Regions from separate parts of the Homo sapiens genome. Here region 1 is linked to region 2. The links are contacts of gene promoters, found by promoter capture Hi-C in blood cells and fetal thymus (Javierre and others, 2016). All regions are on one chromosome and are shown on one strand. Each heading gives the region's core, a stretch centred on a gene start or on the middle of the fragment in contact. The rest is flanking DNA. Distances are from core to core; before and after follow the strand shown.

What was found. Contacts are between HindIII fragments. The CHiCAGO score rates a contact against its expected background, and 5 or more counts as called.
Region 1: a contact is called between the fragment with the promoter of SLC1A7 here and the fragment with the promoter of ZYG11B in region 2, in 1 of 17 cell types (endothelial precursors). The highest score is 5.7, in endothelial precursors.

Annotation. Positions count from the first base shown.
Region 1 is chr1:53,141,105-53,147,931 of GRCh38, reverse strand. SLC1A7 (solute carrier family 1 member 7) reads left to right here and starts at 5,294. Exons shown (of 11, transcript NM_006671.6): 1 at 5,294-5,617. The coding sequence starts at 5,483. The HindIII fragment of the contact is 4,621 bases long and covers 3,264-6,827 here.
Region 2 is chr1:52,725,002-52,731,671 of GRCh38, reverse strand. It overlaps ZYG11B (zyg-11 family member B, cell cycle regulator), which reads right to left and starts at 5,219. Exons shown (of 14, transcript NM_024646.3): 1 at 4,989-5,219. The coding sequence starts at 5,018. RefSeq lists a silencer at 4,829-5,408. The HindIII fragment of the contact is 1,298 bases long and covers 4,105-5,402 here.

The sequences.
Region 1 (6,827 bases), core at 4,045-6,544, 420 kb before region 2:
CAGCTACTCAGGAGTCTGAGGCAGGAGATTCTCTTTAACCCAGGAGGCAGAGGTTGCAGTGAGCTGAGATCAAGCCACAGAACTCCAGCCTGGGTGACAGAGTAAGACTCCAGCTCAAAAAAAAAAAAAAAAAAAAAAGGTGAATGATAAAGTTAATGCTACTAATTTAAAATTGTTATTTTTATTTACTTAAGAATGACAAAATCACAAATAAAAAACATCATGATAAGTTGAGAGAGAGAAACTGTGGAAGAAATAAAGCTATATATTTTAGTACCTTTGATGCACTTTTTTCCTGCTTTTGGAAAGAAGAGCCCCACGTGCTCATTTTGCAGTGGGCCTCACAAATTACACAGTCAGCCCTGCTTATAAATTCCCTTTTAACCAAAGCCAGCTTGATTTAGTTTCCTAGTATTTATTAACAAAAATCCTAACTAATTTGGAAACCTAATCTAAACTGGCTGGAGGGTTTAACTTTATACTTTGTCCTAACTTTTATATGCAAATGAGAGGAAGTATGATGCAATGGAAAGTGCATGGGCTTTTATAGGCACAGAAAAGAGGCTCTGAGAGGTTCGCTAACTTCGGCAAAGTCGCACACCTTCCAAGCCAAAGGCTGAGCTTTGAATTTGGTTCAGGGTGACTGTAGAGAGTTCAGTAGAACTTTCTGTGATCATGGAAACGTTCTCTAACTGTGCTGTCCAACATGGTAGCTACTGGCCACATACAGCTATTGAGCCCTTGAAATGTGGCTAGTGCAACGGAGGGACTGAATTCTAAACTATATAAATTTTTTTTTGAGACAGGATCCTACACTGTTGCCCAGCATAGAGTGCAGTTCCATCACGGCTCACTGCAACTTCAAATTCCCAGGCTTCAAATGATCCTTTCACTTCAGCCTGCGAAGTACCTGAGACCACAGGCACACACGACCATGCCCAGTGAATTTTTAAAATTATTTGTATAAGCAGGGTCTCCCCATGTTGCCCAGGCTGGTCTGAAACTCCCGGGCTCAAGCCATCTTCCCACCTCAGCCTCCCAAAGTGCTGGGATTACAGGCATGAACCTCTGGGCCTGGTCCTATTTAATTTTGATTAATTTCAATTTAAGTAGTGTAATGGATGCTATGTAATTGTACTGCACAGACTTAGAGCCCCCAGGCTTGACTGACCCAGTGAATGTGGAGGGGTCCCTGGCTCCCCCTGGTCAGGGCCCTTCTAGGTGAAGGTGTCAGAGTACCCAGCCAGAGCCTGGTACACAGTCGGTGCTCAACACAGAGCGGCTCAGGGGCTTATGGGCGCCCAGGCCTCATTTCCATTAAGTGACAGATTTAGACGGGGGACTGGAAGGGAAAAAGGAAGGCGTGTGTCTGAGTTGCCACCACAGAGTCACTTTCTCCCATCCTCTGAGGCAAATGTGGGAAAGGACTAGCCCTCAGCGAGGTCAGGACAGCCCCTCGGTGACTAAAGCTCGCAGGAATCCACACCCAGCTGGATCAGCTGCATTTGTTGCCCACAGAAAACCTTCCCGGAAGGGCCCAGCTTCCAGCGAGCTGGGAAGACGTGTCAGGGAGATTAAGGCGCCTCTGGTATGTCTCTGGAAAGCAGCCAACATACCCCGAGCTGTCGTCACGACAGACCCAGATGGGAGCTCACCCGGCCAGACCTAAACTCATTTTGACACATGGTGGAAGGTGTAAGGCCCCAGCCCCGATGGCCACTGCAGCCCACCGATGCACTGCTAGCCCTGGGAGGCCCTGCTGTCACGCCTCCGGCCTAAATCAGACTGTCGTCTCCCCTCTCCCTTGACCAGCACCCCCTTCCCTGGCTTATTGAGGCCTCTGCCTAAACCACGTCTCCTCTGGGAAGCCTTCCTATCCCCGCCTTCCCAGGCTGGGTTGGCCCTGCCTGTAGCCCTGGCGAATCATTAATCATTAATCATTAGCAAATAAGTCAACCCCTGCTGCTCTCCCCACAGCATAACCCAAGCAGAGGGCCCGGTGAAGAACAGCTCAACTGCACACCTGCTTCTGCAGGGTGAGGCAGCTGCACCTGTGACTTGGCGTTCATTTTCGCCAACACCATGTCTCTTCTTTGCCATAGCATCTCAGTCTGTCCAGCTCAAGCCTCCCCAGAAGCATCTCTGAGGCCGCCTGCTGCCCATTATACAACACCTTGCTCCTCAGGCTATCCCTAGCACCCCGCTGCCCCTGCCAATATACCCTCCAACTTTGAGGATTCTCCATTGAGGTGATTTCAAATGACATGGTAACAAACAGAGATTTGATTTTATTTTCATAGATTCTTATTTCCTTGTCAGAGCCACTTAAAAGGGAGCTAGGTGAATCCCCAGCTGGTGACTGTGAAGGGCCTGAGTTAGAGTGAGAAAAAGAGAAGGTATTGTATCTAGGGTAATCAGGGAAGGCTTCGAAGAAGAGGGGGATTTAACCTGTAACTTTCGTGACAAGGAAGGACATTCTAGGCCAAGGAAATAGCACAGGCAAAGGTGCAGAAGCCTGAGACAGGATGCAGCGTTCCAGGACCCTGCAGTGGTTTGGTGTCATAGGAGCTGGAGGGGTGACGGAAGGAGTAGGAGGTAATGCTGAAAGGGTGAGGAAAAGGGTGAAAGTGCCTTGCAGGGGAGCATAGACTCGATGCTGCAGACCGGGGTTTCCCAGGCGTGTTCTCCAAACACCAGGCCCAGGGAGTTCTCTGCTCCAGAGGAGGGGTGGGATTCTCTATTCTCCACTTGGTGACTTCCTCCGACACAGCCGCTACTGTAAAGACTTTCATAGTAACTACCTGGGGCTATCTGCAAGGCACTGGGCCACGCTCTAACCATGGCGCATGCAGCACTGTATGACCCACATCAAAACCCTATGATCTAGGTACTGTTGCATTATCCCCATTTTACAGGGAAGTTAAGAAATGTTCCCAAGGTCACACAGCTGGTTGAAGGTAGAGCTGAGGTTTTAACTCTAGCAGTCTGACTTTGAGCTGTCTCAGAGGAAATAACGTGCTTAACTTTTTGTTTCGTCCAGCATTTCCCAAACTTCCTTTTGATGTAATTATGGAAAAATTGTCTTGCACATCTAGTGACATTGTAAAAGGCAGTTGATTCTTTGTCAATGGTGAACTATTATAGGGTTCTGACCCAGGAGACTTGATTTGATTTGCAAATATTCTTAGTAAACTCATTATCAGTCACTTACACTTTAGTGTGAATTAGTCCGTTCTTGGGGTCTCTCCACTTTCTTATAAGCTTCCTGAAGGCAGGGCAGGTACTGTCTGATTCACTGTTGTGTTTCTAGTACCCAGGGGGTGTGGCACACTAAATGGTGCTATAAGAACATTTGCTAGAGTGAGTTGAAATTCTCCTGTTGAAGACCGTAGGAACAGTGGAAAGAATGGCTGTAGTCTGGTAGGCAGGTAGTGGTAGGCTCAGCCTGTGGGAGAGAGGAGTCAGTGGTGGCTATAGGGCACGTCCTGGGAATGGGAGTCATGGAGCTGTGGTAGAAAGCAAGACTCACCTATATCATGGCACAGCTAAAGGCCAGGTCTGGGCTGGGTGTGGTGGCTCATGCCTGCAGTCCCAACACGTTAGGAGGCCAAGATGGGAGGATTGTTTGAGCCCAGGAGTTGATCAAAACCCAAATCCAAATACCTACTTAGCATATTTTCTCTTCTGGGAAGTAACTAACCACCTGATTATTTGGAAAATGAGGCATTTGTTGGAGTTGAAGGTGTAGCAAGAAACTTTTGGTTTTAAGAGTCAAAGTCAGAGGAAAAAAAACTCTCAGACTTGTATTCACCCCCACCCCCCACCCCAAGCTACTGCAAAGAGCAGGGGCTTTGGAAGATTGGTTTGTTGAAATGAAGTTCCTTTGACAAAGGTACCTGGGCCCATTTCTCTCATTCTAAAAAGGACAAGACTGATACCCAGAGACGGCAAGGTCACAGAGCTGATTAAATTGGGATCAGAATCTTCTCAGTCAGGAGCTCTGTCCATGGCTTCAGAGCCTGTGCCCCAGTCCCCTCTCCCCACCTCTCCCCTATGCCCCACTTGGCCCGTCCTCTTCATCCTCTGCCCCTGTCTCCTATGTCAGGAGGAGGAAGCCCCTGTGTGCACCCCACCCTTTACCTCCCACCCTCACTGCAGACTGCACTTCCCATTCCCTGCTGCCTGCTGCCTGACTGCTCCTAATGAGATTACAGATCTCTGGTGAAATAGACGAGGGTTAATTCCCCCAGGCTTTACAGGGCAGGGCAGGCCAGGCCACAAGAAATAGCAAAAAGACACCTATTCTCCAAAGCACTAAGTGTGATAATGACCCTAAGAGTCCGTTCCCCTGTTCAGCACACCAGGGTTCACACTGCGTTTCCAAATACCCTCTGGGTGGAATTTTGTACCAGCCCTAACAAAGTAGATGCTGTTATCATCTCTATTTTACAGATGGAGAAACTGAGGCACAGTGAGATGAAATGCTTGTCTGAGGTCACACAGCTAGTAAGTGGCAGAGCTGGGACCCGAATGTGGGTCTCTTGGGCTCTGTCATCTTTAAAAAATAATAGGCCCAGAGAGCCTGCAGGGTGCCCAGCACCAGGCTTGAAACAGCCCTGAAGCATCTACGTCCCATTTCCCGGTGAGTGGCACAGCCCACCTTTGAACTCAGGTCCCCTGGACTCGAATCTACATTCCCCACAATACTGCCAAGCACCCTTGAACCTATCTGCCTGTTCATGTGGTGGAAACAGACTGGCCTAGCCCTGACTTCTGACCTCTGTGACCATGGCCAAGGGACTGGCTTCTGGGGTCTCAGCCTCCCTTTCTGAAAAATGAAGGTGGGAACCCTGGGATCTTTGGGACAATTCCCTATGATTGGCATAGCTAAGGCAGCCAGCACAGGCCTGGCCCGCAGCACATGCACCCACCCACCTCAGTTTCTTTATCTGTAAAATGGTGATATTAATAGTACTTATTTCTTGGGATTGGTGTTAGGATTAAATATGCCAGTACATGTAACACTCTTCTAGAATGGCACCTGGTGCATAGTAAATGCTTAATTAATGTTGAGGGAAACTGATATCTTACTGTCTTGTTTTTGATTCTTTCTGGAAGGAAGCAGGGGTAAAGATCAAACCAACCAAGCAAATGTTCCTCTTGTTCCTTCCAGTACCTGGTCCACTCAACTGTTTAAGAGGAACGCTTGGCTTTGAGGCCTGAACTCCTAGACCACGTGGTCTGCTCTAATTTCCCAGGCCCTAATCTGCTCCCAGCTCCTAATGATGCAGCTGGTAATAGGATTGTGGCTTCCCTCTAAGGCGGCCACACGGGCATGGCCGTGGGGCTGGCGACTGGTGTTTAGCAACTCCGACCACCTGCCTGCTGAGGGGCTAGAGCCCTCAGCCCAGACCCTGTGCCCCCGGCCGGGCTCTCATGCGTGGAATGGTGCTGTGCCCCTTGCCAGCAGGCCAGGCTCACCATGGTGCCGCATGCCATCTTGGCACGGGGGAGGGACGTGTGCAGGCGGAATGGACTCCTCATCCTGTCTGTGCTGTCTGTCATCGTGGGCTGCCTCCTCGGCTTCTTCTTGAGGACCCGGCGCCTCTCACCACAGGTCAGCCACCCAGAGCATCTCGGGACCCCTGTCCAGGAGGGGCGTGTGGGCCTGAGGGATCTGGGGTCCCGTTCTAGCATCACAGCTCCCTGGTGCCATGACAGTGTGTGAATCCCTCTGCCTCTCTGGGTCCTGGTTTTCTCATCTGTAACATGGGTGTGATAAACACTTTGCAGGACTAGAGGGAAGAACCAGTGATGTGGCTGGGGAGTGATTACAAACCCAGCACCATCAGGTGAGGAGAGGCGAGGGTGCCTCATGATGACAAACACAGGGCCAAGAGCTGTGGCGGGGAAAGAGGGGGGTCTTGTGTGAGTTCAAACAGGCACCAGAGAACACCTCCTAAAGGCTGCTCAAATGACAAGAGATCCAGGAAGCGTGCTCTAGGCAGAGGTGACAGCAGATGCCAGGTGCAGCGGCCGGAGCGCAGAGGCCAGCAGGCCCATAGGTCCCATCGCCACACGTGGGCTTGCGGCAACCATGAGATGCTTTTGGGCAGAAGAGCGACAGGCCAGTTTGGAGCTTGGGAGACCCCTCAGGTGCTGAGTGGAGAGGGGGTGATTCTGGGGCAGGCAGGGGGCCGAGAAGGGGCAGCCTGGGGGAGATGCGGCAGTGCAGACAAAAGGGACAGACGTGAGAACTGTTTTCAAAAGGGGGAGCTTCAGGATGTGGGGGCCGATTGGATGTGGGCTGGGGGACAGGAAGGGGAGCCAGGCCCCGGGTTTCCAGCCTGTGTAACTGCCATGAAGAAGCTGCGTTTCCTGGGAAAGAGCCCCTTTCCCTGTCAGCCCCCATCTCCTACAGGAGAGGGAGGGACATTCCCATGGTGTTAAGGACAAAATCATTCTGCCACTAGTTAAACTGGTAAGGAAGGCTCTATTCAGGACTATTGTGGTAGGGGGGTAGTTATCAAGACCTCCTGGGGAGAGAGATGGGACCCAACCACAAATACAACAAAGATGGCTGGAGATTTATAGCCAGCGAGCAGAGGGAGGGGGTCGGGGACAGAAAATGACTACAGGAGACATCAGGGTAGGGGGATTCTTGTTGAAGGCAGGCCAGGGTGATCAGACATTGATCTGGGATGAGGAATTTGATCCAGTATCAGGATGCTGGAGGGTGAGGGATCCTCACTAAACTGACTTGGCAGGACTTTTGCTACAGCTGGACTATGCAGGCTGAAGACAAGGCCCAAGGACAAAGCCCAGTG
Region 2 (6,670 bases), core at 3,970-6,469:
CATTTATAGGTGTATTTATTGTGTATCCCCTCCCTGTACCCCATGTCTTTTTTTCACTTCTGTAATCACAGTGCCTAGAACATCACCTAGCCCTTAGGAGCTGGTCAAAAATCATCTCTTTATCAATGATTTTTATATTCTGGACATGGAAAGAGACTCTAATCAAATAATTACAGTAAGAAATATAAAATTCCTGTTGCTATGTATTCTATGAAAAAGTGCTACATAATAAAGAGGAGAGTGACCTAGGTTTTTTGGACAGCGTTTCCCTGAGTTCCTTGAATGGAGAACTCCAGGATATGTTAGAGTTAGGCAGGCAAGAGAGAGTATCACCACAGGTCATTTGCACATGCTGCTCCTTCTGTCTGGACTCTTTTTTTTTTTTTTCTTTTTTTTTGAGATGGAGCCTCACTCTGTTGCCCAGGCTGGAGTGCAGTGGCACAATCGCAGCTCACACTGCAGCCTCCACCTCCCGGGTTCAAGCAATTCTCCTGCCTCAGCCTCCCGAGTAGCTGGGATTACAGGCACCTGCCACCATGCACAGCTTATTTTTGCATTTTTAGTAGAGACGGGGTTTCTCCATATTGGTCAGGCTGGTCTTGAACTCCTGACCTCAGGTGATTCACCCACCTCGGCCTCCCAAACTGCTGGGATTACAGGCATGAGCCACTGCACCCAGCCTATCTGGACTATTCTTTACATAACTCCTACAATTTAATCCCTCAGTTCTCTACTTGAAAGTAAGACCCTCTGCAAAGCTACTCCTAACTATTCCATTCCATTATTCCACAACTTCTCTTTTCTTTCCTTTCTATTTTTTTTTTTTTTTAATGAGGTCTCGCTCTGTTGCCCAGGCTGGAGTGCAGTGGCATGATCATAACTCAATGCAGCCTTGAACTGCTGGGCTCAAGTGAGCCTCCCACCTCAGGCTTTAGAGCAGATGGTACTACAGGCATGCACCACCATGCCCAGCTATCAACTTGTCCTTTTTCAGCACACTCAAGATATATTAAAACTCTTCACATTTAAAATTACTGTATGAAGGCTGGATGCAGTGGCTTGTGCCTGTAATCCCAGCACTTTGGGAGGCCAAAGCGGGAAGATCCCTGGAGGCCAGAAGTTTGGTACCAGCCTGGCCAACACAGGGAGATCTCTTCTCTACACAAAAACAAAAAATCAGCTGCACATAATAGAGCACACTTGAAGTCCTAGCTTTACTTGGGAGGCTGAGCTGGAAGGACTGCTTGAGCCTAGGGGTTTGAGGCTGCAATGAGCCGTAATCACGCCGCTGCACTCCAGTCTAGGCGGCAGAGCCAGACCCTATCTCAAAATAAATAAATAAATACATAATAAAATAAAATTACTCTATATACATGAGATGAAAAATGCCAGAGGTCACATCTATTTTACTATCTGTCATTTCCCCAGTGTCAACACAGTCAAAGACACTCCAAAAACATTATTAGATTAATTAAAAGTAAGGACTATGTCTTAGACCAGTAGTTCTCAAATTGTGGTTCACAGACCAGCAGCATCAGCATTATGTGGGTTTTGACAGAAATGCAAACTTTTGTAGTAGTTCACGTCTATAATTCCAGCACTCTGGGAGGCTGAGGCAGGAGGATCACTGGAGCCCAGGAGTTTGAGGCCAGCCTAGGCAACATGGCGAAACCCCATCTCTGCAAAACATATAAAAATTAGCCAGGTGTGATGATGGGCACCTGTGGTCCCAGCTACTTGGGAGGCTGAGGTGAGAGGATCGCTTGAGCCTGGGAAGTCAAGGCTGCAGTGAGCTGTGATCATGCCACTGCACTTCAGCTTAGGGACAGAGCAAGACCCTGCCTCAAAAAAAAAAGAACTGCCACCTCTCAGGCCCTGCCCTCAGTTCACTGCAACCTCCACCTCCTGGGTTCAAGTGATTCTCCTACCTCAGCCTCCCGAGTAGCTGGGATTACAGGCATGTGCCACCACACCCAGCTAATTTTTGTATTTTTAGTAGAGACGAGGCTTTGCCATGTTGGCCAGGCTGGTCTCGAACTCCTGACATCTTAAACATCTCAACTATTCAAACACAACCTAATTAACATTTAACAAATATAAAATACAAAGCTTTATAATAATCATTCATTCAACTGTATTTATTATCTACAAAAATATTGCACGAGAAAGTGGCCTCTACTGATAATTCCTAGCTCAAAATAAGCTAATATTCTGCCTTCTCCTCACCTCTCCCATACATACACTGTTACTCTGTGTGTATATGTTTTAACAAGCAAGGAAAAATCAAGTTAATTAGATGCAAAGTTTAAAACATAATCATGCCTAATATGTCTGCTGTGGTCTGAATTCTGTCTCCCTAAATTCATATGTTGGAATCCTAACCCCCAAGGTAATGGTATGAGGAGGTGGGGCCTTTGGGAGGTGATTAGATCACCAGTTAGTGCCCACATGAATGGGATTAGTGCCCTTATAAAAGAGACTCCAGAGAGCTGCCTGGCCCCTGCCACCATGTGTGAAAACAGTGAAAAGGTGACTTAGGAAGAGCCCTCACGAGACACTGAATCCACTGGGGAACTGATTTTGGACTTCCCAGCCTTCCAAACTCTGAGAAATAAATTTCTGTTGCTGACAAGCTACCTAGTTTATGGTATTTTGTTACAGTAGATTGAATGGGCTAAGACAGTATCTTGCTAGCCTCATTTCCTACTACACATCTCCATTCTTGCATCCTTCCATGCTATATAAGGGTAATACTACTTCCTACAATGCATCCTAATTCCTTCCTACTTTCTTTCTTAAAAAAAAAAAAATCCCTGTGAGGGGATCCTTTCTACTTGCTACTCACATTCACAATGAGGCATTCTTCCCCTTCCCAAAATGATCTATATAAATCCTATTCAACTTTCAGGCCCAGCTCAAAGGACACTTTTAGATCCTAAATACCTCAAAGGGGAGTTCATAACTCCTCCCTCTCATACATTCATTCTCAATGGAAGGGCCCACACTTTCAAAAATCTAGCAGTGTAATGTCTTAGGTAGGATAGCTCTTTATTCTGAAAAGTATATCATCATACCTCACTCAATATCATTTTTGCATCAAAATTAAGATTCTCTGCCCAGGCGTGATGGCTCATGCCTGTAATTCTAGCACTTTGGGAGGCCAAGGTGGGAGGATGGCTTGAATCCAGGAGGTCAAGACCAGACTGGGCAACACAGCAAGACTCCATTTCTACAAAAAGTTTTACAAATTAGCGGGGCACGGTAGTCCGTGCCTGTGGTACCAGCTACTTGTGAGGCTGAGGTGGGAAGATCACTTGACCTCAGGAGTTCAAGGTTGCAAAGAGCCATGATTGTGCCACTGCATTCCAGCCTGGGCCACAGAGCAAGATCGTCTCCAAACAACAATTCTCAAACTCACTCTTTCTGTGTAGTCCACTAGTTACCTCAAATTTCAGTTTAAGTTTATATTAGTCAGGTGGGAAATGAGACCATAAAGTGAATCATTCAAGCACCTAGCTGGCCTGGGCACTTGGAATAATAAGTAAGGAACGGTTGCTACCTAGAACTTACATTCCACAGGGAGAAACAGGTTAGCATACAACAACAGTGTGTGAAAGTGAAGGAGACAAACACAGGAAAATGACAGACTAAAAATGCAGGAGTGAGTTAGGGAAAATTCATAGATTAAATAATTTTATAGTATATTACTTTTCTAAAAAACTGCTGGAGGGAAAAAAAGAAACTGACTAACCTCCTAGGGGAACATAATTATCAGGACTTAGTTTTGCCTTATTCCTCCCAGAGACCAAAATTTAGCTTGTTGCATATGATGGAGCAATGTTTTCAATAAATGTACAGCAAACCACTTATAACCCAACTCAATGAAAAAACCAACTGAAGCCTCAACCTATTTTCAGACAGAAAGAAAATTTGCAAATATAAGGTTCTCCCAACTAAAGGCAGACAGGGCAAAACAAATGAACTCTTTAGAAGGTTTAAAGAGACTGTCACAACCTGCCAACCTGATTGTCAGTCCTCAAATGCCCTTGGTCTCTGCCTCCAAATGAAAACAAATCATTTGTTTTTAGTAATAATAGCCAAGCTTGTAAATAAGTATTTTTAAACTTCTCCAACTGCACCTCCACATTAAAAGATGCTCAAAATAAAAAAAATTCAAAACATTTTTTAGCTATTTCTGTCAAAAGACTAGATCTCTCCTGAGGTCACAGTATGCATGCTGGCCCTCACTTCACTGCTCTGTAACACACCACCACTTCGATTTTGCAATGACACTAGGTGAATAGGCTTCCAGGATCTCTTCAATGCCTCCAAAAACGAAAAGGAAGAAGCAAACCTATAAATCCCTATCTGCCCGCCCTACAGCTCCCGGGAAGCAACAGTCCTCAAATTGTTCCTGCTTAGACCCCTGAAGCCCGTAGAAGGAAATGGGGACAGCTGCGACGGCGAACCGAGCGAGGACATCCGATAAGGGAAGAGGAAACGTGGATGGAAGAGGACGAAGGGGAGAAGGAACACGGAGAGAAGGGGGCAGTGGAGATAAAATGGTGAAGAGGGGTGAGAAGAGCAAGGAAGAGCAGCGAAAACTAGGGAGGAAAGGGGGGAAAGTAAAAATCACATAAGAGGAAAAAAGGCAAAATGATAGAGGAGAAAGAAAGGAAGGGTTAGGGTTAAAGGACAAGGAGTGGGCGACAAAGGGAATGCGAAAAAGGCTGTCACTGGGGGTGATAAAAAGGATGTCATCGGGGAGAAGGGAGATTCAGGGGGTGTCACCTAAAGGGGTTCACCGAAGCAGGTGAATGGGGAAGGAGGAGCTGAACACCGAGGGGGCGGTAACGAGGGAGAGAGGTAAAGGCAGGGAGCCCGAGGGGACACCAGAGACAGGGAGGGGCAAGACCGCAGGGGCCAGCGCGACGGGCGGGGGCTAGGGTGGCGGGCGGCTGCGGCTAGGGCAGGCCTTGCTCCCTCACCATGGCTGCGCCGGCCTGGTCCTCGGGCATGCAGCCTCCGTCCTGGGTGCGGCGGCGGGCCGGACCGGAGCCCGCCCCCAGGCTGAGCCGGCGCGGAGGCTCCAGGAGGCTCCGGCGAGCGGCGGCTCCGGGCTTGGCCCAGGCCTCGGCCTCTTTCCCTCAAGCTAGGAGCGTAGCAGTAGCAGCCGCAGCCGCAGCCGCAGCCGCAGCCCGAACCAGAGCGCAGACTCCGCCCCCGCGAGGACCCGCCCGGGCGCGCGAGCCCGCGCCTGGACCCGCCTCCGCTCTCAATGCGCAGACTCAGACGAGGGGGTCCCGCCCCCCCCAGCCCGACCTCCAGCTTCTCCCCCTCCCAGGCCCTTAAAGGAGCCACACACCCCCAAATCCTAGCATCCCTTCAAAATATGAAAAGCTTTAAATATTACATCATGACGAGAGATTAGAGCATCGCTCACTTCGGTCACCTATAGACTCCTCTGTCATTCACCATCATTCTCTAAGATTTGGGCTTCTGGTTCACTGTCATTCATTACTACTATTGTCATAACTCTTGGTTATTTCAAAATTCGCTTAATTCTTCCAATCCTCTGGCCTCTCAGATTCTTCTCTAGGGATCATTCTTGGCTCAGCCTCTCACTCTCATGCTCATACGAATAATTGTAACTTCTCTACAATCTCAATTTTAATCCTCTAACTCCCATTGCAACCTTCTTCCTTTCTTTCTTTCTTTCTTTCTTTCTTTTTTTTTTTTTTTTTTGAGATGGAGTTTCGCTCTTGTTGCCCAGGCTGGAGTGCAGTGGTGCGATCTTGGCTCACTGCAACCTCCACCTCCCGGGTTCAAGTGATTCTCCTGCCTTAGCCTCCCGAGTAGCTGGGATTACAAACACCCGGCACCACACCCGGCTAATTTTTGTATTTTTAGTAGAGAAGTGGCTTCACCATGTTGGCCAGGCTGGTCTCGAACTCCTGACCTCAGGTGATCCGCTTGCCTTGGCCTTCCAAAGTGCTGGGATTACAGGCGTGAGCCGCTGCGCCCGGCCACAACCTTCTTCCTTTCTAGCTCACTCTGTCTGATAATACTCCAACTCCAAAAACTTCAACTCCAAGACCCCAAATCCATTGATCCAACTACCTTTTCGCTATTCCTCCCCACGCTGGCCTTATGTACTCACTTTCTTCCTGAAACAGCTTAGATTCTATCGTCCGTCATGAAATGGAATCTAATAGAATCTAAGCTGTTTGGGGAAGAAAGTGAGTACATGAGGTACATGAAGTCGATTTCTTCAGTATTACCTTCATTTCTCTAGTCGTTCTCTGCTTTCTTTGTACTGACAGAACTCCAGCAATGGAGTGGGTGGAGAAAAAGCCAAAAGTGGTTGACTGACTCCCCGTAAATTTGAGATCATTATTCTCAAGAGGCCATAATGAGTGGCTACCCTACCACATTTCTCCAGTTTCACACACTCTCCCACCTTGCTACATAACTATTTCAAGTCTCCTGTCTCTTCAAACCTCCGACACTTCCTCCCTCATCTCATTTAGCTGATGATTTTGCTTCTAATTCACAAGAAAATCAAACAAACCAAAAAGAACATCTACAAGTTCCCAGCACCCACCATGACTTCCAACGAACCTGTAACTCTGCTTTGATGCTCTCTCTGCCTTCCTTTCCTTACTACAAG